2 separate regions of the Homo sapiens genome follow, and region 1 is linked to region 2. The links are contacts of gene promoters, found by promoter capture Hi-C in human tissues and cell types (Jung and others, 2019). All regions are on one chromosome and are shown on one strand. Each heading gives the region's core, a stretch centred on a gene start or on the middle of the fragment in contact. The rest is flanking DNA. Distances are from core to core; before and after follow the strand shown.

Region 1 (6,282 bases), core at 2,930-5,429, 130 kb before region 2:
GTCTATGTCCTCATCTCCTCTTCTTATAAGGACACCAGTCCTGTTGGATTAGGGCCCACTCTAGTGACCTTGTTTTACCTTAATCCAATCTTGTCCATTCTGCAGCCCTAGGGCCACATGCAGCCCAGGACAGCTTTGAATGTTGCCCAACACAAATTCATACTTTTTTAAAACATGAGATTTATACACGGACCTGTTTTTTCGCTCATCAGCTATTGTTAGTGTATTTTATGTTTGGCCCACAACAATTCTTCTTCTTCCATTGTGGCCCAGGGAAGCCAAAAGATTGGACTCCTTTGCCTTAATCACTTCTTTAAAGGCCCTACCTACAAATACAGTCACATTCTGAGGTCTTGGGGGCTAGCACTTCAGTGTATGGTATGGGAGAGGGGGCCTCAACTCAGCTCATAACAGCATACTTCTAATGGTGGTTCTCAGTCTTTATTTTGAGGAAAGTGGTCACTTAAATAATGACATATGGAAAAGATACAATTTAAGTAATAGAGACTTCCCACGCAAACCCCATGTAAGGGGAGGAATCGAACGTATCAAGGGCATTCCCCAAGCCCAAGGTGATAGAGGTGAGAAATGCTCACTTATTAGTGCCAATTTCAATCTCCTGATAGATTTTCATTTAGTATGCTGTAAAAGAAAATATCCCTGCAGACACTGGCACTTGAGGGATTACAGTGGTGGGGAGAAATTCCCTTATTTATTTGTGGAATTCAATGAAGCATTTCAGAGTCCACCTTCTGGGGATAACCTGTTCATTGCAATGGAGTAAATCAATAGCCTTCATTTAGATTCTTAACTGGCAATTTGATCTCATTCACTTTAACCAGCACTCATTGGCTGGAGGAATGATGGAGACTGGGAGCAGGCTCCTAAAAAGGGTCTTGAAAATGTTATTTCAACAAAGATTAATTATGAGGCATTGAGAGTTTCAGAAAGGTTCACATTTTTTTTCTAAAGCTCTTCTAAGCCAATCTTAAATGAATCCTCAGAGGACTATTTCTGTGGGTGTGTGTCTGCTTGTGTGTGTGTGCATGTGCATGTGTGTGTCTTGCCCCATTCCAGTTCTCCATCCCCATGCTGAGGAGGCTGGAGGATTCAGAATGCAGAATCAGGTGCATTTTTAAAAAATCATTATGTCAGTCCTCACCAAAACACTGGCTATTTCTATCTTTCCTTCTCATTTTACTCTGCTATAGGAGTCTAAGTAAATCATCTTTAGGAAATACCAAAACCTACCAGGGGTTTTAGATTCATGGCGGCCAACACAACCTAGTATTGATAGCCCATGTAAATGTTTGCCATCCAGATAACAAGAATAACGACAAGAGAAAACTAACATGACCTGCCCCATAGTGTGCTAGATCCACATCTCTTGGGGAATGTTTTGAAGCAAGTTAATACAAGCTACTTGATAAAAGGCTTCCGTGATGAAATGAGATTGGGGAAGCTGAGTTAAACAAAATCAAACAGTGTTCTGTGTTGGACACTTCTCAAATCCTTAACCATGCTGAAAAGCTTAGAGTATTTCCAGGAGAATAGCATAGCACCCCACATCCCAGACCTGCACAGCCCCTGCTCAGGCCATCTTGTGGGACAAACAGTATGCAAAACACACATTCTGGAACATGCTTGAGTAGAGGGGAGGCCACTCTCTAACTTGGGCACAGTTCTGCTCTGGCACACACTGACAAGGTGACACTGGGTGACTCATTTAGTCCCTCTGTAAACGGCCCTTCCTCATATGCGAGAGGCCATGGAACGTTGGCCTCTCAGACGTTACTGGCTCTAACATTATTTTGCCAAAAATAAAATAATTAGTGTGGATGTGTTATAGGAAAGGGGTCTGGATACAGACCCCAAGAGAGGGTTCTTGGATCTCACCAAGAAAGAATTCAGGTCGAGTCCATAAAGTGAAAGCAAGTTTATGAAGAAAGTAAAGGAATAAAAGAATGGCTACTCCATAGACAGAGCAGCCGTGAGGGCTGCTGCTTGCCCATTTTTATGGTTATTTCTTGACGATATGCTAAACAAGGGGTGGATTATTCATACCTCCCCCTTTTAGTCCATATATGGTAACTTCCTGATGTTGCCATGGCATTTGTAAACTGTCATGGCTCTGGTGGGAAGGTAGTAGTGAGGATGACTAGAGGTCACTCCCGTTGTCTTCTTGGTTTTGGTGGAGTTCCACTGGCTTCTGTGCAACCTGTTTTATCAGCAAGGTCTTCATGACCTGTATCTTGTGCCGACCTCCTGTCTCATCCTGTGACTTAGAATGCCTTAAGTGTCTGGGAATGCAGCCCAGTAGGTCTCAGCCTCATTTTACCCAGCCTTTATTCAAGATGGAGTTGCTCTTGTTCAAATGTCTCTGACAGATGTAATAGGTAACGCTCAGAAACTGGCATCAGAGGCTATGCAACCTGAACAGAATTGGCTGACATATATCTCCGGGTATAAAGAAAGTCTCAGCTTTCCCCTGAGATGTAATGATGAATGTCCCTAAAGCTTCCTTCACCCTTCCATGCTAAACTCGCTCCACTGTTCCATCATCTGCTTTGAAGCCACAAGGACAGCCAGTTAGGACTTTGTCATCATCACTTTTAACTTTTGTTTAACTTTTAACAAAGATTGGCCTTTTTAAAGGCTCAATTATATTTAAAAAAAAAACAAAACAAAACTTCCTGCCACTTACGCAGTCCATTCATTTTAAACAAAGTTGATAATGCAAGTCAATGGGAAAAGAATAGTCTTTTTCAACACATGGAATTGGAAAAACTGGATACCTATATGGATAAAAATGAACTTTGATCCCTTACTCCATACTCTGCACAAGCATTAAATTAAGATCAACTGAGATTTGACCTGAACATAAAATCTAAAATTTTGAAGCTTTTACAATAAAGCAAAGGTAGACAAAGACTCCTTCTACAAATACCTGGCACTAAACATTAAAAAATCATAAATTGTGCTTCATCAAAAATACATCTGCTCTTCAAGATAGATGAAAAGGCAATTCACTGACTTTGAAACCAAGTATTTGTGTTCAGAATATGTAAAGGAATTCTAAAACTCAACATAAAAAGACAAAAATAAAACAAAAACACACGCAAAAAAAAAAAAAATAGAAAATGAGCAAATTATTTGGACAAAAATCTCCCAAAAAAGGAAATGCAAATAGCTAGCAATCACAGGAAAAGTTGCTCGATATTATTAGTTATCAAGGAAATAAAAAGTGAAACCATGAGATACTCCTACCCATTAGAATGGCTACAGTTAAAACGACTGACAATACTAAGTTTTGATGAGGATGTGGAGCAATTGGAATGCTCATGTATTGAGGTGAGAATATAAAATGGTGCAACTACTTTTAATAACTACCCTATGGCTCAACAATTCCATTTATAGATATATACCAAAAAGTTATGAAAACATATATTCATCCACACAAAGACCTGTACACAGATATTCATTGTAGCATTATTCATGATAACTTCAAATGGAGCAGAACCCAAATGCTTACCAAAGGATAAATGGATAAACTTACTGTTACATATTCATATAACGACATACTACTAACAGATAAAAAAAGGAATAACTATTGTTACCTGCAATGGAAACATATATAAATCTCAGAAATAGTATGTTGTTAAATAGGCCAGATACCAAATAGAATATGTTGCATGATTCCATTTATATAAAGTTCTAGTAGAGGCAACATGAAAGCCATGGTAATAAGAACAGCAGTTGCCTGAAGTTTTGGGGTTTGGTGATATGAGGAAATTTTCTGGAGTGATGGAAATATTCTTTATCTTTATTAGGCTGATGTTTTCACAGGTGAATATATTTGTGTAAACTCATCAGAATATATAAAGGATCCTACAACTCAAAATAGAATTTTAAAAAACCACAAAAAGTTATTGTGATGGTTAATATTGAGTGTCAACTTGATTGGATTGAAATGATATAAGTATTGCTCCTGGGTGTGTCTATGAGGGTACTGTCAAAGAAGATTAATATTTGAGTCAGTAGACTGGGAGAGGCAGCCCCTTCCTCAATTTGGGTGTGCACCATCTAATCAGCTGCCAGCGTGGTAGGATAAAAGCAGGCAGAGGAACGGGAAAGGACTAGACTGGTTTTGTCTTCTGGCCTACATCTTTCTCCCAGCTGGATGCTTCCTGCCCTCGAAAATCAGACTCCAAGTTCTTCAACTCTGGGACTCGGACCTTTGAACACAGACTGAAGGCTGCACTGTCGGCTTCCTTACTTTTGAGGCTTTGGGACTTGGACTGACTTCCTGGATCCTCAGCTTGCAGATGGCCTATTGTGGGACCTCACCTTGTGATCACGTGAGTCAGTGCTCCTTAACAAACTCCCCTTTGTATATACATCTATCCTACTACTTCTGTCACTCTAGAGAACCTTGACGAATACGGTTATGCATTTTTATTAATGTAAATTATGCCTTAATTAACAATAAATACCTTCTCAACCTCCAAAAAGAGACTTTCTGTCTGAAACTTGAGAATAAGTCTAAAGTTTTCATTTAATAATGAATTTGTAAAAGACAGGAAAATTGATTTTGGCATTAATTTGTTCAACAAATATCTGTTGAGCATGTCCTATGTGGCAGAGGCTGAGTGTGGGGTGTGGAGTGGGTGAATGTAAGGAACATATAGTTCCTGGCTCCCTAGAGCTTATTATGGTCTAGGGGTTGGAGAGAATTGGTACATTGGGATTTTAAAGGGGGTGCCAAAAGTGGTGATGACAAAGTTCAGGGAAGAACAACTGGAGTGGAGGGAGGGCATCAACATGGATGCTGAACCAAGCCAATGTACTGCTAAGAGTGAGGTGGAAAGTATCATGCGAACCCCAGAGCTTCAATTGTCAATACATACTGGGGTGTGACCAGCAGATTGATAGAAGACAGCAAAGAGAGATGGGTAAATGCCAATAGAGCAGAATAGCATGACTTGTCAAGAGACAGGACTTTTCAAGGTGAAAGGAAGGGAGATGGTCCTGAAGCAGCAGTCATGTCTGTGACCCAACCAAGCCCTAAGCGATGACAGATAGAAACAGAGTCAGGGTCCTCAGAGGACAACTTAGTTTTAATTAAGGACAGAAGTTGAGAAGAATATTTTAAGAAACATTTGAGGGCATATTACAGTTTGCTGGCTATGGGTTAGGGTAGGGTAGAAGAGAGAGATTTGGAATAAAGGGTATGGATGGGACAAGACAAAGCAGGGCACCAGCCCTACCTTGGACCTTTCCTTAACTTGAGAAAGTCATGTCCATGTTGATTCAGCCAATCTGACTCAGGTATTATGTAACTTGAAATTGAACCATCCCAACTGATATAAGTGGTGATACTGAGTAACACAAATGTGCTTTCTGGATTCACACATGCACTTTTTTTTACATGAAAAGTTCAAACTTCTATGTGGAGATTTTTTTCAACAGTATCCTCAAGAAGTATTCATCATGCAACTCTTTCTAGGAAAGGTATTTTAAAAAGAAGAAAAATGTCATTTCTGGCCCCAGAATGTCAAGACATACATCTCTGAGAGATTTAGTTCTAATTATTATTGTAGAGTCTTGTGGGTGTTTCTTATAATTTTAATTTTTACAAAAAACAAATCTGTCCATCCATGCATCTATGTATGTATGTATATATGTATGTATCTATCTTCATCATCATCATAATTATCCATCTATGATCTATCTATTGTGTATCTATCTAATAATCTACCTATGCAGAACTGCAAAATTCACAGGACTGGCCCATACTGCCCTCTGCTCCCCACTTTGTCTAAACTTCAAAATGAAGTTTCTGGACACAGGGCTATGAAATGCAAAATGAAACAACTCATGTCCAAAGCTCTGACACTCTGCTGCTCATGAAAACCTGCAATATCCAACTGAGTTTTTCATTTTTAACATCAGCAGGTCTAGTTCTCTATCTTCATAGAGAGTTATTTTTAATTTTATTAGGGGATAAATTCTTTTTTAATAAAGAAATTATTAGGTATCAAAATACCACAATCTCTTTATGGATCCAACTAGATTATGTGTATGGGCAAAGTATTTTCAACTTAAGAATAACATTCCTGTTCCTTGAATACTATTTTGAAAGTTTGGATTAAGGGATATTAACTTCCTTAAGACAAAACAGACTCACAGTTGAAAACTACTCACCTTGTATATAGAAGTTGCTTAATTAATATCAATGATTTTTATTGAATTGGAACAAAATAGACTATAACTTTTTATAAG
Region 2 (6,402 bases), core at 905-3,404:
TTAGGGACAGGGGTCTGGGGTTGAGGCTTCTAGGGCTGAGCTTCTCTGAGAGTATCTCAGGGGTCCCCTCAAGCCAAGCCCTACTCAGTTCTCCAGGGTCTTTCTCAGGGTCAAATTTATGAAGAGGGCATGATGTGCTTGGCTGAGACTGATCTCCTCCTGCTGAGTCCCCCCATCAGACTGTCCTTCCTCTGCAGCGAGTGTCTGCAGGGTCTGGATGCGGGAAAGGAATTCTGATCTGTTGAAATTTGTCTCCTCTGTGTGTGTCCTGCACTAAATGCCCAAACCCCAGCATGGGACATAATGCAGAGAGTGACACAGGCAGAGTCCAGGCCTGACAATCCTGTGTGTGTGAAGTAGAAATGACCCCTTCCCCCCAACACCCAGGGATCATGTGGAATCACTCACAGTATAAGGTGAAGGTGAAATGTCGAATTTCTTCTCTAGTCTCATCACCTCGCTTTATGATGTGTAAGGTGTAGGTTCCTGCATCCTTCCGGGTGACATTCTGGATCAGCAGGGATGCGTTGGAATATACTGTTTCTCTTCCACTGTATGCAGGCCCATATATAATTATTTTACCATCAACTATATACGATATAATGTAATGGTAGAGGTCCGTCATTTCCCCTTTGTACCAGAAGTAGCCAGGAAGATTCTGGGGCAAATTGTGGACAAGTAGAAGAACATCCTTCCCCTCAGAAACTTTGGGTGGCTGGGCTTCAATCGTGACTTCGGCAGTGGTGGGCGGGTTCCAGAAGTTTAAAAGTGATGCTAGGAGGGGGAGACAGCATCAGTTAATATTGAGACCTATGTATTGTGGTGAAAAGATGGGGCCCTGGGTCCTGAGAAGGTCTCTTCCATCCTCAGCCTTGAAGATACACACACGCACACATACAAACAAACACACACAAAAAACGGGCATGTGTGTTTGTGTATGTGTATGTGTGTGTGTCCTACTGTCCTACTAGGTCAAGGTCAGCAGCATGACCCCCATTCCTTCAACACTTCTGACCTTGGCATTTTTCTGTTTGGAATCCTCTTCCCCAGGGGTCCACACGGCCCCCTCCACACTGCCCTCAGGTCCTGCTCACATCAGGGCATCCTTAGACTTCTTTCCTGACACCTCCTTCAGAGACCCTGGGTCTTCCCTTTCTGACCTTTCCCTGCTCTGCTCCCTCCAGGGTTCTTGTCAACACCTGATCTCACATTCTACATCTCTTCGCATGTCTGTCTTCCTCCCCATGACAGCGTGAGCTCCGTGAGGACAGGGACTTTTGTGATCCTGGTTGCACCCCAGTGCCTGGGACAGGCTGCAGACTCCTGTAGATGTGAGAGTTCTCAGGGCCCTCCATGCCCTGGGTGTTTTTTTTTCCCCCAATTGTTGAGGTTTTTTGCTGAGGATAGTGTTTCATGTCCTGCTTATATTTTTATTTGAAGTGTCATCTGATATAGTTATTATTATCATTTTTCAAAATGTGGTGGCCCCGGATGATTAATCAGGAAAACAGAACACTTAAGATTTTCCTACCTCTTACCAATTCCGGTTCAATGTGACTTTCCTCTTTTGACCCCTGTCCCTCTCTGGTGTATTTTCCCCTATCCAGGCTGCAACAGAGCCTTCTTTCCTTTTTTTCTTTTTTTTTTGAGACGGAGTCTCGTACTGTCGCCCAGGCTGGCGTGCAGTGGCGGTATCTCGGCTAGCTGCAACTTCTGCCTCCCGGGTTCACATGATTCTCCCACCTCAGCCTCCCGAGTAGCTAGGATTACAGGAGTACACCACCATACCTGGTTAATTTTTTATATTTTTAGGAGAGACTGGGCTTCACTGCATTGGCCGGACTGATCTTGAACTCCTGATCTCGTGATCCACCCACCTCAGCCTCCCTAAGAGCTGGCTTCTTTTATTTTACAACCCCATCCTCTCCAGGAGACCCCATCCAGTCACTCCGCTTCCTCCCCCTGTCCTCTCCCAGGAAGTTCTCTCCTCACCTGTGAGCAGGAGCCCCTTCCAGGTGATGCGCTGTGTGCAGGAAGGGGCTGGGAGGGGCCCCATGGTCTCTGCTGCCTGTGTGTTCTCCTCTGTGGAGATGAGCCTGGGATCCAGAAGCTGTCTGAGCACGGCTGTCAGCTGTGCTGTCCTTCCTCCTTCTGTGCTGAGCCTCTTCCCGGGGCAGGAGCACTTCTCAAGCTCATGGGCGGGGTCAGTCCCAGGACACCTCTCTGTCCCCTTCTCTCTCAGTCCTGCCTCCTTGTCCCTCCTTCTGTTTTTCCTTTTGTCTGTGTTTCAGGTCCCTGGGAGTTGTGGAGGCCTCTGCCTTTTTCAGCAGTGATTCTTTCACCAAACCTCAACACACACTTTGTGCAGACACACACACACACACACACACACACACACACACACAGAAGAGACACACACAGACCCACACAGTCAGGCACATACCCTGCAGGTTGGGCAAGCACAGTCCTGGGCCTCAGCCTCCTGCTGTCCCCATGGCTCTGGGTTGGGGTGCACATTCATGCCTTTTACCCTCTTTCATCCCCATCTGGCTCTCCCCTTCAGTGCAGGAGGCTGGAGATGCACCAGGTCCCTGTCACAGTGACACCCCATTGTGCTGTGGGTGAGCTGTGTGTTGCCTGGTGAGAGGGACCCTTCCTTTCTCTAATCGTGTCAAGCTTGACTGCAGCTTCCAAGGATGGACTTTCAGGACCTGGGTGTCCCAGAGGAAACTGTCCTTCCTGGAGGTGTGCAGGGTGAATCTCTCATGCCTCTTAGGAGGAGAGGCCTGTGCTGGTTGCTCAGTGGGGGCTGTGAGTCCCATAGTCAAAGGGACAGTTCTCTGTCAGTCTATGGCTCCCTGGGGTCTGGCGGCTGAGCTGGAGCTCAGGGTTTCTCATGTTCTCCCTGACCATCTTTGATGTCCTCTCTTCTCTGCCCAGCTGATTGTCCTGTGGTCACCACACCTTCCCCGTGGTGGTGCAGGAGGAAGTGGGGAGTTACCCAGGAACCCCGCGGGACATGGCTCATTGAGACGCAGGAGGGGGAGCCTGGGACAGAGCAGGGGTTCAGAGCTGGAGAGATTCATCCCGACTTACTCCGTGGCCATGATGGGCTCAGCCCTCCATGTGCTGACACACCCAGGGGTCTGTCCTGAGGGTTTTGACCTGGCCAAGCTGCTGTCTGTAGAGGAGGAACAGGCAGTGACCAGAGAGGCTCTCTGGAGGGACGTTGCTCACACCTGAGAGGGCGGGTGGGGGTGAGTTGTGTTCTGGGAGCAAAGAGCAATAACACCGCCCTTCTCCACGCAAGTACACAGGAGAGGTCTGTCTTCCCAAGGGACAGCTGGGGGTAGGTGGCCACATCCCGGATGGTACCTGTGAATGACCATCACACGCTCTCTGAGCCCCCTGGGGTGCAGGGGGCAGGCAGGTGACAGGGTGCCTGGCTGATTCCCGGGGAGGCTGTGGGCCCTCAGGCAGCCGCTGTTCTGTGTCGGCGCTAGGCTTGGCCTGGGAAGCCCCAGAGAACAGGACAGATGGAGCAGGGGCAGGCATTTAGGGAGCAGTGACAGAAAGAGTTGATGAGGATGGAGAGAGTTCACGAGGGGAAAGCGCCCAGTGTGGCGTCGCGTGCACCAGCGCTGCCCTGGGAGATGCCTTTAGCTGGGCCCAGGGAAGGAGCAGGTGTGTGGGGCAGGAGCTCCCTGCAGAGGGAGTGGTGTTAGGTTGGCGGCCGCCAGGTCAGGGAGGAACTGACAGAGTCCGTGTGGGGAGCATGGAGGGTGCTGAGGACTTGGGCCGAAGTGACCCTGGTGAGGGTGGACCCTGCTGGGCTGTGGGTTCCGCTGAGGGAGGTTGGCATCCCCTGGGAAGGCTCCAGGCTGGGAGGGACTCTGTCGCCCTCTGGTGGACAGGGAGGGAAGTGTGAACGGCAGCAATCCCAGGCCAGGCTGCATGTTTTATTCCACTTCACACGAGGTCACACATATGTTATGTTACAGCTCCTTCACCTTCCAGCCCCGTGAGTCCCAGTCTCTGTGGCTCTACGTTCACTGTTATCCCTCTTTCACAATCAGATGTCCCAAACGCAGATTTTTGTCACCTTCTGTGAGTTTGTGTTTGTGTGCAGTAGGCAACACTGTGAATACCCTGGGGGCAGTGATGCCTGGGGCTGAGCACTGCACATGGGTTTGAGAGCAGAAGAGGGAGCAGCAGGGTGGGAAGATCAACGTCAGGGGGGCAAGGACAAGTCATTTTCATTTTCTCACTCCCAGGGACCAGAACCCAGGATTCTGACTCCAGGGCACAGTACCACACCCTGCTGGTGTCCCTGGATGTCATGATGCTCATAGTGTCATGTTGCCTTGGCATTCATTTTTTAAGGTGTAAGTTTATTTGCCTCAAATCAGAGGCAGGGCTTGGTCACCATGGTAGTTTTCAATACTGTGTCTGGTTCAAGTGGCTCCAGTTGGTGTCCAGAGATAAAATCTTAGAGGCATCTCTCCTGCTTGGTGTGCTGGGCTCCCCTCTCTCAAGCTGCTTTCTTTAAACTGATAATTCTGACATTCGCCCTCACATTTAAAGTGACTACCTCTCAGTCACAGCGTGAGCTCCTGGTCCCAGTGTTTGCTGCTTGCTTTGAACACATCCATTAAAGCTCCCTGCTGGAAACCTGTCAGATAACACCCTGGACTTAATAAAGCCATTCGCTTACAGGTCTCTTCTCTCCTCCCTGCATGGGGTCACTGACCACTGTGTCTGTGGTCTCCAGGTGTGCCGAGTGCTCCCTAGTGTCTGGAAGTAGTAAAAATACTTACATTTTCACGTTGTGGTTGTATTGCTGTTGCCTCACATGCCATCCAGGGCCTGACATTGAGGCTGCCCTATGGGACCTGTGCTGGTTGAGCCCTTGCTGGAGCTCTTGTTTTGGGGCCTTTGATTCTCCTGGGGACAGGAGCTTCCAGCTAATTTGATTGAAATACTGATGTGTTTCATTGACACACTGGGTCAGATGATGTATTCATGGGCTTCAGCTGCCATAACAAACACCTTAGCTTGGGTGAACGATATAATAGAAATCTATTTTTCACAGTTCTGTGAATAATGTGCTATTTCAACCACTTTAAAATGCACAATCAAGTGAAATTAACCACATACACAGTGTTAAATTACCATCACCACTATTTTCCCTAGAAAATTTTTATCATTTTAAACTGAAACTTTGTATCTTTTAAACAATACCTCCTTGTATGTTCCACCCTAGACTTTGATCATCTCTACTCTGTCTCTATGAATTTGCCTATTCTTGATGTCTAATATAAATGGAATTATACACTTACGTTAATTTGTTTCTGACATATTTCACTTAGCATAATATTTCCAAAGTCCATGCATGTTCCAGTGGGTATCAGAGCTTCATTCCTCTTTATGGCAGATTAACATTCTGTTGTATGTGTCACCATATTTATTTATTGATGTGTTGAGGAGCACTTGGATTGTTTTCATATTTTATATTTTGTGAATAATGCTGCAATCAACATTCCCATGCAAGTACCTGTTTGAGTCCCTGGATTTAATTCTTTGGGTATATACCTAGGAATGGAAGTTGTTTCAAATGAGAATTCTATGATTAGCTTTTTGAGGAAAAGCAAAACTGTTTCTCCTTTTTATATTCTCACCAGCAATGTATGAAGATTCCAAATTCTACATAATACTGGTACTTGTTATTTAACATTTTAAAAGAATGGTAGCCAGTTTTGTAGGTGAGTTGTCGTGTCTCATTGATGCTTTGACTTTGTATTTTCCTAACGACTAATGATGTTGCGTATCTTCTCATGTCCTTCTTGACTATTTGTATATCTTCCTTGAAGAAATGTCTATTTGAGTCTTTTGCCCATTTATAAATTGGATGGTTTGTCCTTTTGTTATTGAGTTGTAGCTAGTTCTTTATATTATCTGGACATGAAAACTGCCTATATGTGGTTTGCAAATATTTTCTCTCATTCTGTATCTATTAATTATTTTCTTGATAATTTCCTTTGATGTACAAAAGGCTCACATCTTGATAAAGCCCAATGTATATTTTTTTCTTATTTCTCATGCTTTTGTATCATATCTAAGAATCCATTGCACATTTGAGGTCATCAATATTTACATCTATGTCTATTTTAAGATGTTTTTATGGTTATAGATCTTATATTTAACTCACTGATCAATTTTTTAGAGAATTGTTTGATATGGTGGGAGGTAGAGTTATCTAAATTCACTGTTTTGCATGTGGTTATCTAGTTGTTTCTGCACTATCATTAGAAAGGAGAATTGTTCCTCCATTAAATTGTCTTGACACCCTCTTCAAAGAGTAATTGACCATAAGTGTGAGGGTTTATTTCTAGACTCTCAATT

The links. Contacts are between HindIII fragments. The study calls those that stand out against the background at their distance.
Region 1: a fragment that was not itself captured here is called in contact with the fragment with the promoter of PSG9 in region 2 in 2 of the 25 tissues and cell types used here (H1 embryonic stem cells and pancreas).

Annotation. Positions count from the first base shown.
Region 1 is chr19:43,133,341-43,139,622 of GRCh38, forward strand. No RefSeq gene overlaps it. Among named protein-coding and RNA genes, the nearest start is that of PSG11-AS1, 18 kb to the right of the region's middle. The HindIII fragment of the contact is 7,180 bases long and covers 590-6,282 here.
Region 2 is chr19:43,267,376-43,273,777 of GRCh38, forward strand. It overlaps PSG9 (pregnancy specific beta-1-glycoprotein 9), which reads right to left and starts at 2,155. Exons shown (of 6, transcript NM_002784.5): 1 at 1,993-2,155; 2 at 409-774. The coding sequence starts at 2,056. The HindIII fragment of the contact is 8,927 bases long and covers 1-6,402 here.